Linked DNA regions of Homo sapiens: regions 1, 3 and 4 are each linked to region 2. The links are contacts of gene promoters, found by promoter capture Hi-C in blood cells and fetal thymus (Javierre and others, 2016). All regions are on one chromosome and are shown on one strand. Each heading gives the region's core, a stretch centred on a gene start or on the middle of the fragment in contact. The rest is flanking DNA. Distances are from core to core; before and after follow the strand shown.

What was found. Contacts are between HindIII fragments. The CHiCAGO score rates a contact against its expected background, and 5 or more counts as called.
Region 1: a fragment that was not itself captured here is called in contact with the fragment with the promoter of TMEM52B in region 2 in 1 of 17 cell types (neutrophils); the score reaches 5.2 in neutrophils.
Region 3: a contact is called between a fragment that was not itself captured here and the fragment with the promoter of TMEM52B in region 2, in 1 of 17 cell types (naive CD8 T cells). The highest score is 5.6, in naive CD8 T cells.
Region 4: a fragment that was not itself captured here is called in contact with the fragment with the promoter of TMEM52B in region 2 in 2 of 17 cell types (naive CD8 T cells and total CD8 T cells); the score reaches 6.3 in naive CD8 T cells.

What each region holds. Positions count from the first base shown.
Region 1 is chr12:9,638,723-9,641,902 of GRCh38, forward strand. It overlaps the pseudogene LOC374443 and the pseudogene GOT2P3. Among named protein-coding and RNA genes, the nearest start is that of CLEC2D, 29 kb to the right of the region's middle. The HindIII fragment of the contact is 5,494 bases long and covers 1-3,180 here.
Region 2 is chr12:10,177,463-10,180,565 of GRCh38, forward strand. It overlaps TMEM52B (transmembrane protein 52B), which reads left to right and starts at 1,570. Exons shown (of 5, transcript NM_001384896.1): 1 at 1,570-2,166. The coding sequence starts at 2,113. RefSeq lists an enhancer at 1,928-3,103. The HindIII fragment of the contact is 29,503 bases long and covers 1-3,103 here.
Region 3 is chr12:10,709,615-10,713,087 of GRCh38, forward strand. YBX3 (Y-box binding protein 3) reads right to left here. Exons shown (of 10, transcript NM_003651.5): 6 at 294-500. Among named protein-coding and RNA genes, the nearest start is that of YBX3, 12 kb to the right of the region's middle. The HindIII fragment of the contact is 301 bases long and covers 1,439-1,739 here.
Region 4 is chr12:10,733,445-10,736,624 of GRCh38, forward strand. The region is part of intron 1 of LOC112268104 (a long non-coding RNA gene); the gene reads right to left. Among named protein-coding and RNA genes, the nearest start is that of YBX3, 12 kb to the left of the region's middle. The HindIII fragment of the contact is 3,643 bases long and covers 1-3,180 here.

The sequences.
Region 1 (3,180 bases), core at 621-3,120, 540 kb before region 2:
AGGTTCCAAGATAAACTTGGAGCTCCTGGGCCTGTTAGAAAGTGACATTCTTTACTGATCACAGGTCATGAACCCTGTACAGGAACTGCATAGACAAGGCTCTGAGACCAGTTTCCTCAAGGGACTTTTTTTTTTTTTTTTTTTTTTTTTTTTTTTTGAGAGAGTCTCACTCTTGTTGTCCAGGCTGGAGTGCAATGGCACAATCTTGGCTCACCGCAACCGCTGCCTCCCGGCTTCAAGCAATTCTCTTGCCTCAGTCTCCCGAGTAGCTGGGACTACAGGCATGTGTCACCATACATGGCCAATTTTGTATTTTTAGTGGAGATGGGGTTTCTCCATGTTTGTCAGGCTGGTCTCAAACTCCCAACCTCAGGTGATCCGCCCGCCTTGGCCTCCCAGAGTGCTGGGATTACAGGTGTGAGCCACCACGCCCGGCCTTCCCCAAGGGACTTTTATTGGCTCTGCAAGTTGAGCTTGACTCCTTAAAGAGAAGCATACCCTTCCAGTCAAAGCCTTGGTAAAACAACCAGTTACTCCAATTGCATCCTGTTGCAAAAGAAAATGGATTTTTACTGCACTGATGCAAACAAGTATATTGCTGTAAGTTAAGAATACTCACAGATAATTTCCAAATTCTACAGGAACCAGGCAGAGAGAAGCAAATATACTCCAAATTTTGTTCACAGGAGTATACTCTACTCAATGATTAAAGGCTATAAATAGTTCAAAATATGTTTTCTTGACTCTAAAAAACAAAACAAGGATCAGCAATATCCAAGCAAAATTGAGAAAGATTGCTTCATTTTTTTGAGTTCACCCAGTTAACCCTTATTTTGCTTGATATTTATGAACATTTTAGCTCTTCATGAGTTCTGTACATTTTTCCTTTATTCCAATGTCACAATCCCCAAAGGTATGAGAAACCTGTATCTGAGAGCACTTGTAAAAGTTCTCTAGCTTATTATAAACCATCTTTTGAAAAAGATTAAAACAACAATTGTCTGTGAATAACAATATGTCCAGGGTAGTTACAGTTAGAAACACAATTGACAAAGTTTTGTTATCTCTGTAGTTTACAATAACTTAACAACTTTAATTATGATTGATAGGATATTCTTTAGACATTAGAATTTTAGAAATTCCATACAATTTTGGAACACATATTAGTATTATTCACCAAAATATGACCTAAAGAAGACTGAATACCATTTTGGCAATCCCATGTACCTAAACGTGTCACATAATCCTGTTTACCTTTCTTTTCTGAACACTCCAGGGGCCCTCTGAAGTATCTGAAAAGCCAGGTGTCAGAAAAGACAATTTTGAAACTGAAGTTTGATTTTGGAAAGCCTATTAAATATATTAGAGGCTTAAAATACTTGCTGTTATGAAATAGAATTCCGGATTACCATAAGTTATTTATTTTGCTGAAATAACAACTAAGAAATTTTTTTAAAGAAAAAACCTTGTACAGCCCTTTCATACAAATTTTGCTGACGAGCAGATTAGTGCCTTAAGGATACCTTGCTGTGCTTTTATTTGAATGCTCAATTTACAGAAAAATCATACAATACTTTTTGAAGTTAGTCAATATGTTCACACAGAGAATTTGTTGCAAGATTAATTTTTACAATCCTTCCACCAGTTGTTTGAACTTTTAGCTTTATCTTATCTAATTTAAAACAAATCTTCAACCCTAGGCAGGAATTTACATTTTTATGATTTCTTATAATCTTTATTAAAAACACATTTCACTGTCCTTATGCACCTTGCATGTAAATCTATTTCCAATAGTCTCAATTACATGTCATAATGGTAACTTTTAGCAGTTTTTAACTTTAATGTAAAACCTGGTAAGTTGTTTTGATTATGTGCTAGATGCAGCCAAGGTTTGACTCCTTCCAACATAATTAAGGGAGTGTTTAGTTCCATGTGTCCCCAGGCCTTGCCAATTGTGAAGCCAGCAAATTGAAAAGTTCTCAAAAACCAAAAAAGCAGTTTATGACCTTAAAATATTTTGCCAACCTAGTATCTGACCTGCATAATTTAGTCCACCTATTTACATTTTTATGACATCTGCTTTTTACCAATAATCTTTAAGGCTGTTTTTATTTCTCCAAGATTAAAGTCACGTGAACTGAAAGGTACCACAGCTTTTTATCTTCTCTTTCATAAAATATTTGATCCAAGTGCTTGTCTTCCTTTAGGCAAAATTAATTAGAGCTCTTTTTTTTATGTAAACATCACACACACAACACATATAGAATTACACAGACAGGTAGAAGATAACCCGGTCCCCATAAGATCTTTCATTTGCCAATCTCCTAATTGGATTATTGGCCTCTGGGTGCTTTTAATTTCTGGAGTCCATGAGAAAAAAAAGAGGTCTCTCCTCTCTTGTGCGTGCATTAAAAAAGTGGCAAAGCAAAATGAAGAAAAAATAATTCAGTTGACCAAGAAAAACCTTTTCCCAGCAAAACAAGGTCCAAGAAAAGGGAAACCTTTTAAATATGACTCTAACTTGGATATCCACTTTTAGTTAAGCTGAGCACTCCTTAAGAAATTCCTCTTAACTCCCTTATTATCTGAATTTAGCCACACCAAGTGGCCAATATTTCTGGCTTTCAAACTTTACTAAAGGCTCAGAGAAAGGAAAATCCAAGGCAGTTCATGGAGAGAAATGGAATCAACAAATAGCAAAAGGTCATGCAGATATCAAACCAGGTAAGACTCATTCCCTAAGCCAGGATTGAATCCAAGCTACACAGAGGCTACACAAAACCTTGCCAAGTGGTTACAGGTCTTGCTCCCAAGGATGTTAAACAAGATGGAGGTCCTCAGCAAATTTGCTATGGACCATACAGAAAGACATGCAAAGCAGACCAGATTGGCTACAGCTTCAGATCAGCCTCACAAATCGTCTCTCGCAATTAAAACACTACAGAGAGCCCTCTGCTCAGTCCTGCAGCTGCCCACTGCCCTCCTACTGTCCACCGTGGCCCTGCTGCACTCTGGCTGCGTCCTCTCTGGGATCGCTGCCACCTTCCACCTGGGCCTCGCAGCTGCGGCCTCTGCCAGAGCCAGCTCCTGATGGACCCATGTGGAAATGGGACCTCCAGATATCATCCTGGCAGTCATTGAAGACTTTAAGAGGGACACCAATAGCAAAAAGATGAATCT
Region 2 (3,103 bases), core at 320-2,819:
TCACTCAGCATAATTAGATTTACTGAGCTAGAAAGGTCCTGAAAGGAGGTTTTATTCAATTCTTATGAGATAGATATATCACTGTAAACTAACTTCTACTTTTCTTATCCCAGCCTGGCCAATATGGTAAAACCTTGTCTCTACTGAAAATAGAAAAGTTAGCTGGGTGTCGTGGCAGGTGTCTATAATCCCAGCTACTCAGGAGGCTGAGGCAGGAGAATTGCTTGAACCCAGGAGGCAGAGGTTGCAGTGAGCCGAGATTGCACCACTGCCCTCCAGCCTGGTGACAGAGAGACTCTGTCTCAAATAATAATAATAATAATAATAATAATAATAATAATAATAATAATAATTTTTTTATTAAACATTTGGTATTAAGTAAAAGATCACCTACTTAAGTATAAATCATTCATACAGCATTCTTTTGTTTCTTTTAATATTTTGCTTTTTTGAGGCAGATTCTCGCTCTATCACCCAGGCTGGAGTGCAGTGGTGTGATCTCGGCTCACTGCAACTTCTGCCTTCCGGGTTCAAGTGGCCCTCCTGCTTCAGCCTCCCAAGTAGTTGGGATTACAGGTGCCTGCCATGACACACAGCTAATTTTTGTATGTTTCGTAGAGAAAGGGTTTCATCATGTTCTCCAGGCTGGTCTCAAACTCCTGGCCGAAGTTATCAGCCCGCCTTGGCCTCCCAAAGTGCTGGGATTACAGGCATGAGCCATGGCACCCGGCCACATTTGTGTCTATAGCTTTGTTTCATTGTAAGTATTCTAGGCCAGGCACGGTGGCTCACGCCTGTAATCCCAGCACTTTGGGAGGCCGAGTCGGGCGGATCATGAGGTCAGGAGATCGAGACCATTCTGGTTAACATGGTGAAACCCCGTCTCGTCTCTACTAAAAATACAAAAAAACTTAGCCGGGCGTGGTGGTGGGCGCCAGTATTCCCAGCTACTCGGGAGGCTGAGGCAGGAGAATGGCATGAACCCAGGAGGCAGAGTTTGCAGTGAGCCGAGATTGCGCCACTGCACTCCAGCCTGGGTGACAGAGCAAGACTCCGTCTCAAAAAAAAAAAAAAAAAAAGTATTCTATGCTTTTGCATGTGTGCTTGTTTTTACTCTAACCTTAGGTTTTATTTTCCTGAGTGACAAGACTTATTTCTCAATCACATCACTCCTTAACCAAAGAGAGAGAGAGAGAGAGAAAGAGAGAGAAAGAAGGAACAAAGAAAAGGCAAGAAAGAAAGAAACCTATACATTTGCTTTTTTAAAATTTGGTTTTAAAAAAATGTCTTTCTCAGTTATCTATTTCAATGGGAAGTGAAGTCAGGGAGGAGGAAGATGTCACTGATAACACCTGAAAATTCTAATCTTCCGACTTGATTTCTCATCTTCAAGTCTGTTTTCTCCAAAGATGAGATGGCTTTCCTGTTCACTTGGCAACCTCTCAGTCTTACCCCAATGCTTAGGGATATAAATGACCCAGAACCAGGAGAGTTGATTATCAACATAGTGAAGGGGAGGGTTTCAAAGAGCAAGAAGGGGTTGTTAGTCACACGGAGAGAGAAGAAAGGAGATTAGCAGGGTGACTTTCACCCTGCAACAGTCACGCTGGAGTACTCTGGTGAAGGATCAAGAATATTACCAGTTTTCTGATGAAGAAAGGAATATATTTGGTCACCAGCAATCTGCCTTTGACCATCCTCAAAGCCAAGTTTTTCATCGCTGTCTAGAAAAATACTTCATTCAGAGGACACATATGTCCTCTTTGAATGTCTCCTTTTTGGGAGCAGTAGGAGAAAGAAACTTCAAGATGTAGAAAGAATTAATAGTGTAACGGAAAGAAAGAAGGCAAAAGGAAGTAAATGTGGAGGCCATAGAAATAGTAATAAGAATAAAGAAGAAAAACAGGAAAGAAGAGGGAAAAGCCATAGAAAATAACAGCCAGAGCGAGTAGGAGGAGACAGAGAGAACGAGAGAGAGAAAAGCTGATAAATTCCTGAGAAAAGTTTCTCTTCTTAAGAATTCTAGGTCAAGAAGTAAAATATGGCACAGAGCATTGAAAGGAGGCAACGGATGCCCAGTGCAAGATTCTGAAGAAGCAGGAATTCAGCCCGATGGGAGTCCGAGTTCATGTCGTGGCGGCCTCAGCCCTGCTGTATTTCATCCTGGTGAGTTCAGTGGTGAAAAGGCAGAAAGAGTATTTTTCCCCAGATTAATCAACTCTCAGAAGAGTCTGAAAGGAAATGAACTGCGGGGTGGGGAGACATATACAGAACCCAGGGGGTCATAGGGAAATGAATAAACTACAAAGTTTCCTTAGTATTACGAGATTGCATAGATGCATGTGTGACTGATGGCAATGACAATGAAAAGGGGGACAGAAATTAGAGTGAGCATGGAAACGAGCAGGATTGCCGTGGCACTTTAGAAGTGCCGCTGAAGTATTTTATCTCTTTTAGCATCTTATCACCCATCCCTCAAAATTCCAAACAAATTATGAAAACTAGGTGTGTAATTCCCCTAAACGGAATTTCCCATCCAGGAATTTCTAATCCTGTTCTAGCAGTTTAGGTGCCTCTAGTCTAGAAATAAGAGAGGCAGGGCTCTTTTAAAATATTTTGGGCCCCACAATGAATCAGAAGTCTCTGAGTAATCCATTAGTGGAGAAAAGGGTCACTGGACTGAGGGATTCTAAACAATTGTCACAGGGAAGTTTATAGAGCTATGCCATCTAGCAAGAAGGAGAGCAAATGAAGAAAACTGGATAGTCTCAGATTCCCGTATGGCCCCCGTACAGAGTGGGCTGTATGGTTTGTTTTTTTTTTTTTTTTGCTAATAGAACAGTTAAAGTGGTATCTGAAAATCCATTTTTTCTTATATTTTCTTTTTGCTTCCTCTTCACTCCCTTTGCCTTGTCTTCCCTTCATTTTTCCTTTCTTTTCTCTTTGCAACAAGCCTGAAAAGTAGCATTTTCTCTGCTGAGCACTTTAGGCTTCTCTTACCTTTAGTGAAGAAAGTGAAAGAAAGTACCATGGTTGCGTAGAGGAAACACACGCTTTTTCATCGTTAGTGGCCATTTCTTTCCAATGAAAACACAAACACGGG
Region 3 (3,473 bases), core at 339-2,838, 530 kb after region 2:
TTACACATTCCACCTGTCTTGTTACCTTAATTCTTTTGTTCTTCTATCAACTAGAAACTTTGGCCATAAGGGTTCCCTATTATAGGCATGGATCACGTGGTTTTGCTTTTAGAAGTGTTACCGGAATGACTGCTTTGAAAAAACAGACTGAAGGCCTTGCCTCAGCTTTTGTAGCATCAGGAAGCCATAAGCAAGGTTTCTGGCAGCTGATGTTGGAGGAGGAGGAGGAAGAGGAGGCAGAGAAGGACGGAAGGGTGAGGATTGCTGAAGAGAAGTCTCAGTTGCAATTTTACCTGTATTCTGTTGGGATGGGGTAAGACCCGTGAGCGACGGTCAAAGGTCTGTCCCACGTGGTAAGGCGGGAACCGCCGCTGCCGGTACTGAGGGCGATACTGGGGGCGGCGCAGCTGATTCCGGGCCCCAGAGAACTGCCTATCAGTGGCAGGGGGGTCAAATCCTTCACTGCTGCCGCTCCCTTCCTCCTCCTCCTCCCCAGCGTACTAGCGAAGCAAAGAAACAGAGATTCAGAAGAAGTTTTAGCAAGGAAAGAACCAAAGAACACCATTTAGGATGAATATCACCAAAATAAAATCTCCCCAAAGCAATATAATCCTTTCCATTATACAGACAAAATGCATTTAACCCAGATTATCATGTGATTGCCTGGGATAAACTACATTAAGATTAGAGTAGATCTGTGCAGATAAAATACCAAGAAGCAGAAAAGCAAGAGCAATCAATCTACAATCAATTTAATAGTCATCTCATTAGAACTCGTATCAGCTAACCAACCACCCGAAGAGTATCTGCAAGGTTTATAATTTTTGCTCCATCAAATGCGTGTCTCCCAGCATTTACCATCCACTGAGGCAATGTCAGGGAAAAGCCAAAAAAGAATACATTTTATGATGTTACCAACATATTTGACCCAAGTGGTATTCTTCCTACAAGTCTGTAAAGTGTGGATGGGATTTCTGAAAACTTCCAGGGGGTCAGCGAGGTCAAACTATTGCCATAATATTACTAAGATGCTATTTGCCTTTCCCAGGCATTCTCTCAGAAGTATATGGTGGGGTCTCCCAAAGGCTACAATGACATGTGGTCTCTCAGCAGACTGAATGCAGAAACAGATGTGAGAATCCAGCTATCTTCTATTAAACCATACATCAGAGATCTGCAAAAGTATAAAGCAATACCACTCTTTTCAATTTAAATATTTTTTTTCCATAAAAACTGTTATTTTCATGAACATATAGTTATTTTTAATCAATTAACATTTTAAGTTTATTTTACTTTCTAATATAATATTAATATAAATAAACATTGACAAAAACTCTAGAATCCTCAATAACATGTAAGCATATAAACAGATCCCAAAATCAGGAAGTTTGAGAACCACTGACCTAAGGCATGACTCCCTTTATATGTTTAGGAGTAAAGCTTTAATCATACTTTGATGGTAGTAAGCCCTAATCCTGGAGGTTTCTAAATAATAGATCTTATTAATATTCACAAAGGAATTTACCGATTCATTTTATATTTTTCTTCTATTTAAATTATATCATATACTACCATTTTACATTTTAAAAAACCAAACATCCTACAAAGACTGTGATTTCAAGTCTTACTTTAAAGGGGATATGCAAATGTCTTTAATGGGAAGTAACTAGTTTTTAAAAATGAATAAATAAAAAAAGCAAAATAATGACCCATTACTTTTTTTTACAGGAGTGTATTTAAGCTTTGGACCCTTCCAGAACAAGTCCACATGTGCAACCAAACTCCCCCTCCAAAAAAGCCTCAACTAGTCTAACTTCAAAAAAAATCAAGTCATTCTACTCTTCATAAAACCTCTACCAAAGATGAGATTCACAATTATGTAAACGTTTATTTGCACAGAAAATGCTTACCAAAATATTAAGTGTGAGACAACATAAACTGTTTTTCTTCTTGGGCTTATCTTCCTCTTTTGCATTTCACACAATCAAATCTTTAAGAGTTTTACAAAGCATAATAATGGCACCAGCAATGCTGAACACACTCTTTTGAGAGATACTGAACAAGTTGTTGGGACTTAGATATTACAACAAAAAAGCTCATTTATGTATACTTTAAGAGTTTTAACAATTTTGTTTCTTAAGCGTTTTAACAATTTTGTTTCTAAATATCTTTTATATGCATGACTTTGGAATTTTCAGGTTTTGGACAGGAAAAGTCTTTAAGAAAAATTTTTCACTGAATGTTTTTCTACCACTTTTGCTTTTGAATTAACCTGGGAGTCAAAATAATCACAGTTAGCGCTCTGTGACTCTGATGAACTTCAAAGAGAACATGATGTAGGAAATGCTACAGCAGCTCATTCCTAGCTATCCCCCTCATAGCTTATTAAAAACCAAATAAGATAAGCAAAAACAAAGAAACAAGTGGGAAGTCCTAAGGAATCTGACAGAATTAATTTGGGCAGGATGTGATGATGGCAGAATAAGGAGGAAAAGCATTTAGGTAAACAGAAAGATATAAAGCTATCAAAACATAAAGATAGGTCATTCTCAATCTGCAGATATTTAATTCTGATGAGTTTTTCTTTGGATGAGACAGGCAGTCACAATCCTGTGCTGACAAACATTCGGAGTTTTCTTCAATGTGCCAATACCTGGTTCTAATTCTAGAAACACCAAGAATGATTCAAATCTAGTAAGTTTCTCATGACCACAAATATACTGGGTCCGTTTTGGGTGCCTTGAGAATACTCCTATAAACTGAGCCTCCCAAGAAAGCTCCAGCCAGATTTGTGACAAACTCTTTCCCCTGCATTGAAACCAACCTAAAGAACTAAAAATCCACAGAATCACTTATTGCTTCTTTACTTTGAAATAATGGAAAAATGCTATGCTAAATAAAACAGCCTCTTAACCAAGGCAAATTCGTTAATAGTTCTGTGGCCTGTACTTTTATTGCCTGTTCACAAGTTATTTCTCACTCTTTCACCAACCAAATTTTGATTTTCTTAGAGGTCAACAGTGTCGGCACCAAAGAATGAACAACAAGGTTAAGTCAATGATGGAAATCCATTCCCCTTTGCCAGTGAATGTCTGTGACTAGGTTCTGGCCAGAAAAAAGAGCCAAATGAAGAGAAACCTTGTTAAAAAAAACCTCAGCACTGTCTCCCTTAAGTCTTCCTGTTAAAAGATAATTAAATGTCTATTACTTGTAGCCAAATATATCCTAACTGATACAACTTCTGAATGGCAAGTGTCTAATGAGACCAGCGGCTCTGGAAAAGTTCTGAGCGCTAAAATTTCCCCTTAAGAGTACCGTGTATACTGCTCCAGTGATGGGTGCACCAAAATCTCAGAAATCACCACTAAAGAACTTATTCATGTAACTAATCACCACCGGTTTCCCAAAAACCTATGGAAATCAATAATACACATTTTAAAAAATAAGATAAAAATTTCCTCTAAAGAAAAAAT
Region 4 (3,180 bases), core at 367-2,866, 560 kb after region 2:
TATATGCCTTCCCCCCGGCCCCCCTGCCACTGGAATTACCAAAGTATTTGTGTGGTCCATATCGGAGCCATGGGTAGATTACAACTCTTAACACTGAAGCCAAATCATTTTGAAATTTTAGCACCGAAAGTCCCACATCCTGGGAAATGCCTTAGTCCCAGGCAAACTGGATGACTGGTCAGCCTAGCTGTGACTCTGGTATAGATTTGGGTGTGCACTTTCACAAGTCCCTAGTGATATGTGTCTAGCAGACCATGGTGAGACTGTTTGAAAGTTACTACACAATTACACATATAAGATTGTCCAGCAGAAGATAAAGAAATTAAATGAGGGTAAATACAATCCTGTTCTGGTGTTTAGCATTACCTGGAGAGTACTTTTTGGGGGCCTGACTATAAGACCATCATTTCAGAATGGACTGTTAAAAATTAAACTTCTGCTCTAAGGTGGTGGCGTTATGTTTTCAGAATCCTGGGCACAAGGCAAACATCATTTCCTCAAACTTGGACATGCCATCTGACACATGGTTTAACATGATGGGACAGATGACAGAACCTGGAAATGCCACTTAGATTAAGTTGGAGATGATTACCTACCAGAAACCGAGAGTGTTTTTAGGAGACACAATTTCCATCCCAAGAGAGAAGACATTTCTATCTTGATTAAGGCTCAATAATGAGGTTGCAGGTAGCTGAGAAAGGAAGATGACCTCTGGAACTTCTGGGGATGTCAACCTCAGGAAGCCACTACTGCTCTCAAGTCATGTGTTTCTGAGACTAGTTCAAGATACTTGACAGCTGGTTCTGGGTTCTTAAAACCAGAGAAGATTGTAGGTAAACATCCCAAATGTTGCCAGAAAGCTCGGGGAAGCTGACTATATTCATAGTAAGGTTAGCTGGCCCATTCAGCCCTGGTATGGGCAGGAGCAAAGCTGAGCGTCCTTCTGTCTGCAAAGCCTAATCTGACTGTACTCAATCCCTTTGCCAAACTTCTCTCAACTAGTGAATCTGGTAAAAGAAACTGTTTCCTTCCATAGCAGGAGACAGGGTGCAGGCAAATAGATCCTTTTCTGTGGATTGGCCCAAGGCCCAGGAGAGAGTTGATGGGGAATTAAGGTGGCAATTAAAATGTCTGAATGCTACTTTTCAAAGTTTTAGGTAACTGGGGCCCCTGCATATCCACACTGGATACGCTTCTCTCGTTCTCACCAGAGAATCAACTTCTGTGAATGCTTGGATGCTGCTGGTACCCCCACTGAATTGTCACAGACTTTAACCTACCATTAATGTGGTGGCCTGAGGCACCTGGAGAGAGCCTGGGACCTCAAAGAGACTGGCCCCATAGCGACACTAGCTCTACCAGTATCATTTTGAAATTTTAGCACCGAAAGTCCCACATCCTGGGAAATGCCTTAGTCCCAGGCAAAATGGATGACTGGATAATGGAGATTTGAAGTCATATGTCCTGGGTTTCAGTTTTACAAGCTGTGCAACTTTGGAAAAATTTCCATTTCTTTTCTTCAGTTTCTTCATCAGTAAAATGAAATAATAATGATAGTACCTCTTGCCGAGCATGGTGCCTTATGCCTGTAATTTCAATACTTTGGGAGGCTGAGGTGGGAGGATCACTTGAAGCCAAGAAATTTGAGAGCAGCCTGGGCAACATAATAGAACCCTGACTCTACAAAATAAAGAAGAAAAGAAATTCGCTGTGCAGTGACGCACATCTGTAGTCCTAGCTACTCGGGAGGCTGAGGCAGGAAGATCACTTGAGCCTAGGAGTTCAAGGCTGCAGTGAGCTTTGATGGCACCACTAGACTCCAGTGTCAGTGACAGAGCAAGACCCCAGCTCTTAAAAAATAGTAAGGTTGTTGTGATAATTAAATGAGACAAAGTGCATAAAGTGCTTAGAATAATACTTGTCACAACCAAAATACCCAGTAAATGTGTGCTTATCCTCATCATCAGAAGGGACACATTTATAAGATAGGTGTTTAGAGTTTAGGGGTGTGCAATCACCCTTCTTTTATTGTGCTTTTGAGGAAAATTTATGTGCTCACAACTAACCACACAATTAGTGCTTTGATGAAAAAGCTGAGTGTGTTTTGGGGTTCTTTAAGAGGGGGAGTTCCAGTGGGGCCACTCTTGTCTCAGTAGAAGCCACATGCAATTGACACCTCTTTTGCTTGACTCACACACTGTGCTTAGGAACTGGGAAAAGTGAACCAGCTCTTACCAGGTACTTTCTCTCTTACAGAGAACTGGTTGTGCTTGGGAAAGATTTTTAGACAATAATAAACTGGAAATTTGAGAGAGGAAAGTACAGTCTAAACCTTCACCTGGTAATGGATGAAGAGCAAGGAGAGTGGGACCACCCTCTCATTCTTTTCCCAAACATGGATGGATGTGAGCAGGGGACTATGACCCAAGGGTCAGGGGGAAAGGAGAAATGGAATGGCTTCAAGGATGAAGAGGCTTGACTGAAGATTTGGTTTGAATGAGTAACTCACTGTTTCCCACCAATTAAAAAAACCTCATATCTCTGTGTAAGCCCCACATGGCTACTCCATTATCTGAGACTCCAAGTTCTCTGAGACTAATAAAGACTCTGAGTAGCCCTCTCAATAAGTGGATTTGGAACTGTTCTGGAAGAAAGAAAAATTTCCAAGAAGACTCAGTTTCTGAAAGGCACAGGCAAGAAATGTCCCCTGTGCTCAGCTCACATATTCAGCTCTTGAGGAACTCGGGGAACTTATCGCCCCTCCATCCAGCCACTGATTTTTCTGATGGTTCCTGTCTTTGAAACATCTCTCATTCAGGCTAAAAAAAATGGTTTCTTTTTGTATGCTGTGAAGAGGACAACAAAATAGGTGTAAATTTTCTTTATAGAGATATGTGAATTGATTATGAAAATGGGGTAGAACAACACTGAAATATAATATTAAATTATATCTTTTTGTCAGCCTGGTTGAGTGACAGGTTGGATTTGATTTAATTTCATTTAAAGAAAATAAAATAATTTGACAATTCATGGATATCTCATTTTGTAAAGATTCATGTCCTCATTATTTTCTTGAAACCATATCAAGTTCTGTAATAAGTGTAGATGTCTTGGTGACAGTTAATTTAGTATCTACCACGTGTTAAGCCCCACACTACAGAGCTAATTCTAACTAGTTAA